Regions from separate parts of the Homo sapiens genome. Here region 2 is linked to region 1. The links are contacts of gene promoters, found by promoter capture Hi-C in human tissues and cell types (Jung and others, 2019). All regions are on one chromosome and are shown on one strand. Each heading gives the region's core, a stretch centred on a gene start or on the middle of the fragment in contact. The rest is flanking DNA. Distances are from core to core; before and after follow the strand shown. Region 1 holds the start of PPIC (peptidylprolyl isomerase C). Region 2 has its middle 150 kb from the start of CEP120.

What was found. The method cuts DNA at HindIII sites, captures the fragments that hold promoters and counts their contacts. A contact is called where the count stands out against the background at its distance.
Region 2: a contact is called between a fragment that was not itself captured here and the fragment with the promoter of PPIC in region 1, in 1 of the 25 tissues and cell types used here (aorta).

The regions. Positions count from the first base shown.
Region 1 is chr5:123,035,450-123,038,014 of GRCh38, reverse strand. PPIC (peptidylprolyl isomerase C) reads left to right here and starts at 1,290. Exons shown (of 5, transcript NM_000943.5): 1 at 1,290-1,506. The coding sequence starts at 1,390. PPIC-AS1 (PPIC antisense RNA 1) reads right to left here and starts at 2,093. Exons shown (of 2, transcript XR_001742868.2): 1 at 1,727-2,093. RefSeq lists silencers at 1,064-1,113, 2,422-2,565. The HindIII fragment of the contact is 11,652 bases long and covers 1-2,565 here.
Region 2 is chr5:123,275,905-123,278,469 of GRCh38, reverse strand. No RefSeq gene overlaps it. Among named protein-coding and RNA genes, the nearest start is that of CEP120, 150 kb to the left of the region's middle. The HindIII fragment of the contact is 6,559 bases long and covers 1-2,565 here.

The DNA.
Region 1 (2,565 bases), core at 41-2,540:
TAATGGTTCCAATGTCATTTTAGATCTACACTTAGGTACACCTAGGAATCCCATCTGACATTTAGAAATTCCATCTCTTAATCCGAGGAAAATCTTGGCTTGAAAGTAATGGCACCAGCCCCTTAAAATGGCACCTATGTGCGAATACCACTAATTTTTAGTTAATTTTAGGGCTGTTACTCTAAAACAAAAAAGTTCTTTTGAAATTCTAATTCAAAAAGCAATGAGTTTTAAAATAACCCTTTCCATGTTATAAAATACTTATATGCTCATTGTAGAACATCTGGGAAATCAGAAAACTGTAAAAAAAATTTTTTTAAACCCTCAAAAATCCATAAGTCTATCAATAGCTATCAATTCTATCTATAGCTACTGTAAACGTTGTGGTACATCTCTTTCAATATTTAAGTGCCTTGATATATTTATTTTCACGGTTGAGATCAGAATTTGTGGTTTTGCAACCCGAATTTTCCATTTAAAAATATAATAAGAACTTACTTCCCCAGTCATTAATCTTCCTAAACATAATTCTTAAGTTTGTAAAAAATCCATCCTACAGATACACCTAAAAGTCAGTTTATTTACTTTGTTTCCCCAGGAAAGAATCCTACATGACCATGGTTCTGGGCCTGTGTAAGTGCTGCCTTGTGAACAGTGTAGATAAGATCACAGAATCATCCTCCAAATAAAGTACTTAAAGCCAATGTAAAAGTTTTTCGAAGGCAAAGGGGCACTGTGAATCCAGCATTTTCCAGTGTTCCCTAGACGTGAATCATCTCAAAGAGAGGCCATTATTCGAGTGCAACAGGGCTCCACGCCTCCAGCGATGTCAAAGTTCTGCTAAGCGTCCAAAACCTAGCAAAAGGTTCCAATGGGCCATTGGAACTCGGCGGCCGCGGCGGAGGCTGCTCCCAAGGCGGCAGCAATCACACCGGGACCGGCTGCAGAGTTCCCAGTCCCGCGGAGCGCTAGCTGCCGGGCGGACGCGGAAGCCCGAGAGTCCTGGTCTTCCCGTCCAAGTTTAATCCGCGCCTACGCGGTAAATTCCTGGAGGTGCTCCCAGCCTAGCCCGCTGCGCCCGGCTCCGCGCCTGGGCAACCCGGGCTCCCTCCCGTCCCTGGCGCCCTCCGCACCCGCCTAAGGCGCGGCGGTCGAGCCCTGGCTGCGCCCTGTGGGCGCGCTCCTCCGAATCCCAAGTTCGGGTCGCGAGTCTGAACTTGGGAGGAACGCGCCCCGGGTCCCCGCCCTTCCCGGACTGCCCGATCCCCATCCCCCGCAACCGGGAGCGCGCAGGCGCAGCCGGCCGGCAGTCCCGTCAGCTGTCCCAGAGCCTGTGTCGCGCCCGTGCCGGTAGCGCCCGTGCCGGTAGCGCCGCTGCCACCGCTCACCATGGGCCCGGGTCCTCGGCTGCTGCTACCTCTCGTGCTTTGCGTGGGGCTCGGCGCACTTGTGTTTTCTTCGGGGGCCGAGGGCTTCCGCAAGCGAGGCCCCTCGGTGACGGCCAAGGTGACCGAGAGCGGCGGGCTGCAACTTCCCCTGTTGCGGGCGGGGCCCTGGGGGCGCTTTGGATACTGGGACCTCGGTGTCAGGGCGGGCGAGGTGGAGGCTTCCCGGGCGCAGGGGGACTGGAGGCGGCCGCGGGACTGGGTGGGAGGGGGCTGCTCGCGTGCTGGGAGGCCGGCGCTCCGGGGGAGACCCTGGGGGAGCTGGGCTGAGGCCAGCCTACCTCCGCCGCAGTCTGCTTGGACTTCTTGTCCCGGGTCGGTAGTCCGAGGTGACCAGCCTGGGGGTAGGAGAGGCTTCCGGAACCGGCGGGCCCGTTCTCCAGGAAAGAGACTGCCCAAGTACTTCCTTCAGCGTGGCCTGGGCTCGGGAGCAGAACGAGAGGAATGCGGGGAGGGGGGCGGGACCCGCACAGGAGAGGCGCTCGGAGCCCAGGGCTTGCAGCCGCCCGCCCGCTGCGTGGTCTCCACGCTGGCCGCGGTGGCTTCAGGCAGGCATTAAAGCGCCTGGTTCAGATGAGAGACTACCCTCCGCCTCTTTTGGGGAACCGTCGTCCTTCCCGGGAAGGGGAGGTGCGCCTTCAACTTCGGCGGGCGGGCGGCCCCTGCTGTGGGCTACGCGAGGCCGGGCGAAGGCGGCACCTGTAGACCTGGGGCAGCCTCCACTGCGGGGAAAGGGGGCGGGGGGCTGCCAGAAAGTGCGTCTTTAAGGCTTCCTCGTACTTAACTCCGCTTCAGTTCTTTTTTCAGCGTATTTAACCAAGGGTAGACGATAATGGGAGAATGCAGGGAGAGGGAGGGGATAATTTGGTGCCCATGATCACCACTTCTAGAAAACCCACTGGCAATAGTGTCTTCGAAGCTGAAGCTGGAGGGGGCGGGCTGCAGCTGAAAGTGGTCTTCATCAGTCTGGGGTTTGTCAATGGAAACGATACTAATCAACGAGTAGAATGCTTACATCCTCGACCGCAGACGCCACCTGAGGACGGGGAGGACTAGGGGGTGGGGAGGAGGAGGTCCAGCTCAGCATCTGATGTCGCAGAAAGGCCGTGCCACGTTGTGG
Region 2 (2,565 bases), core at 40-2,539, 240 kb before region 1:
CAAAAGCCAAACTTGTGCAAGATGAGAGATGAGTCATTGTCACATTGTGTGCCAGGGCCTACAAGTGCGCCATAGCTTCCCACCTGCTGTTTTATCTTTACTTACAATGGTGTTCCCTGACTCCCCACCTGACAGGTGAGTTTCAAGGCTGCTCAGAATGTTTCCTCTTTCTGAGGCCCTACCCTGACCTCCCCAAGTCAGGGGGCTCCCCTGAACCACCTGCTTTCCCCGTTGGGCTTCTGAGGACTTAGGTCACATTTCTCTTAGAATGATCTTTCTGATCATTCCTGTAATTACTACTAATTGCTCCTGTAATTACTAGTCCACATGCCTGCCTTCCCAACTGGATTTGGATGTCCCAGAAGGGGGTGCCTATTCTAGAGTGAGGAGTCTCTGGTGTCAGGTGACTCACTTTATAATTTTCAGTCTTCACTTCAGTCTCTGAGGTAGGCCTTATAGCTACTAGCTTGTAGTGATAAGATTCACCCCCGGCCGGGCGCGGTGGCTCACGCCTGTAATCCCAGCACTTTGGGAGGCCGAGGCGGGTGGATCATGAGGTCAGGAGATCGAGACCATCCTGGCTAACAAGGTGAAACCCCGTCTCTACTAAAAATACAAAAAAAATTAGCCGGGCGCGGTGGCGGGCGCCTGTAGTCCCAGCTACTCGGGAGGCTGAGGCAGGAGAATGGCGTGAACCCGGGAAGCGGAGCTTGCAGTGAGCCGAGATTGCGCCACTGCAGTCCGCAGTCCCACCTGGGCGACAGAGCGAGACTCCGTCTCAAAAAAAAAAAAAAAAAAAAAAAAAAAAAAGATTCACCCCCAAGTCCACTCGGCTCCACCAGGAGCCTTATGTCATGACACTATGCTTATAGTGTCATAACACTTAGGAATATTCTGTATTAATTCTTTAACCCAAAGGAATGAATGAGGAATTTGATCAGCTAGTAGGGCAAAAAATTGCAGGAAGGTTTCCAAGTCCCACCGTCAAGATGTTCGCATAGTTGGGAAGGGGATAGGATGGGCTGAGGTATTAGAATAAAGGGCCACCCAAGGAGCTCAGGACCTCTAGGGTGACCTGGGGCTGTGGTACTTAAACACAGAGTGATTCTGGAAGCATCTCCTTCAGTGACTACATTTCTTTGTCACCCTGATGGAAGAGGTTTGGGCCCAGATAAATTAAATCTGTGCTATTTTGAAATCCACCTGTCGTAATTTCCCCTTTGCTTGACATGATTTGTGCTTACTAGTAGGTCCTTTCTATAGAGATTACCTCTGCTGTTAAGCTTTCCCACAGGTTGGAAGTTTGAGGCTGAGGCTTAATAAAAGCACACAGTGACATTTTCAGATTTGTAAACATAGTTTTTCTTGACCACTTTATCGAGTGTCACAATTAGGGCTTTGAGTTTTCTTTAATGGTTTTTACACACAGTGTAATGGGAAAAAAAAATCCACACAATAAGAGGTGCCGCTGGCAGGTGTTTTAACAACCCTAAAATTATAAAGCCAAGAGTTCATTCTCATATCTTTAAAAATGACCAGGTCCTTGTGGGCCCCTATTAATGTTTTCTCAATTCTATTAATAGACTTCCTTTGCTAGTGCCTTGCAATGTATAACACATGGCATGTTTTATGGAAACACTACCAGACTCTGTTTTGGAAGTTTCTTTTTCTTTCTTTCAGACTTGACATTACATGTTTGATCAGAAGGAATCATAATTTATACTTGTTTTTTTGGTACAAGCTACTTGTTTTAGTTTCTCAAAGTGGGGAATGTCGCTCCAGAGAAAGGTCTATTTGAGAGTTAAAATCCTTTGAAACACGGAACACATTTGATTCTTGAAAATGGTTCCAAAGTCTGGTTTCCCTCTTCAAAGTGGTCAAATGCAAGCTGAAAAGTGTTTCAAATGAAAATCCCTCTGCTATCTGACATCTCCCTTGCTTGACAAACACAGGCAAGAACTGAAAACTACTGGCTCGGCACTGTAGTGTTGCTGACAACCATTCAGTCCATGCCAATTTCCAAGGCATTAGTTAATTCAATTAGTTAATTTTTTAAAAAAGTAATTACATAGCTAAAATACATATACATAGCTAAAATTTCCAATGGTGAGAGAGGGTCTACAAGGAAAACACAAATTATTCTCTATACCAGACGTTGGTTCTCCAATTTTCCTAGTTTCTTAAGAATTCTTAAAATATTCCATGCATACAATAAACATTTTATTATACACAGACAGCCTGCTCTATATGCAGTCTCTACACACTATAACTTGACAATGGCATATTAGCACACGTAACTTTACAGAAATATTTTTAAAGGATTTTAGAATTCGATGACACTTAATGAGTCCCCTTCTGATGGGCATAGAGATCATTTCCAGTCTTCTGCTATTATAAACAGTGATTCAATAAAGCCTCAATTTACAGCGAGGGCAGACCTCTGGTAGCATGGGGGTGGAAGCCCTAATATAGCAGAGAAGCAGCTGCTTTTAACAGCTCATGGCAAGAGAAAGCCCTCAAAGGGTCAAGTATGGTTTCCTGGGCACACTTTCGTTTGAAGGCTGT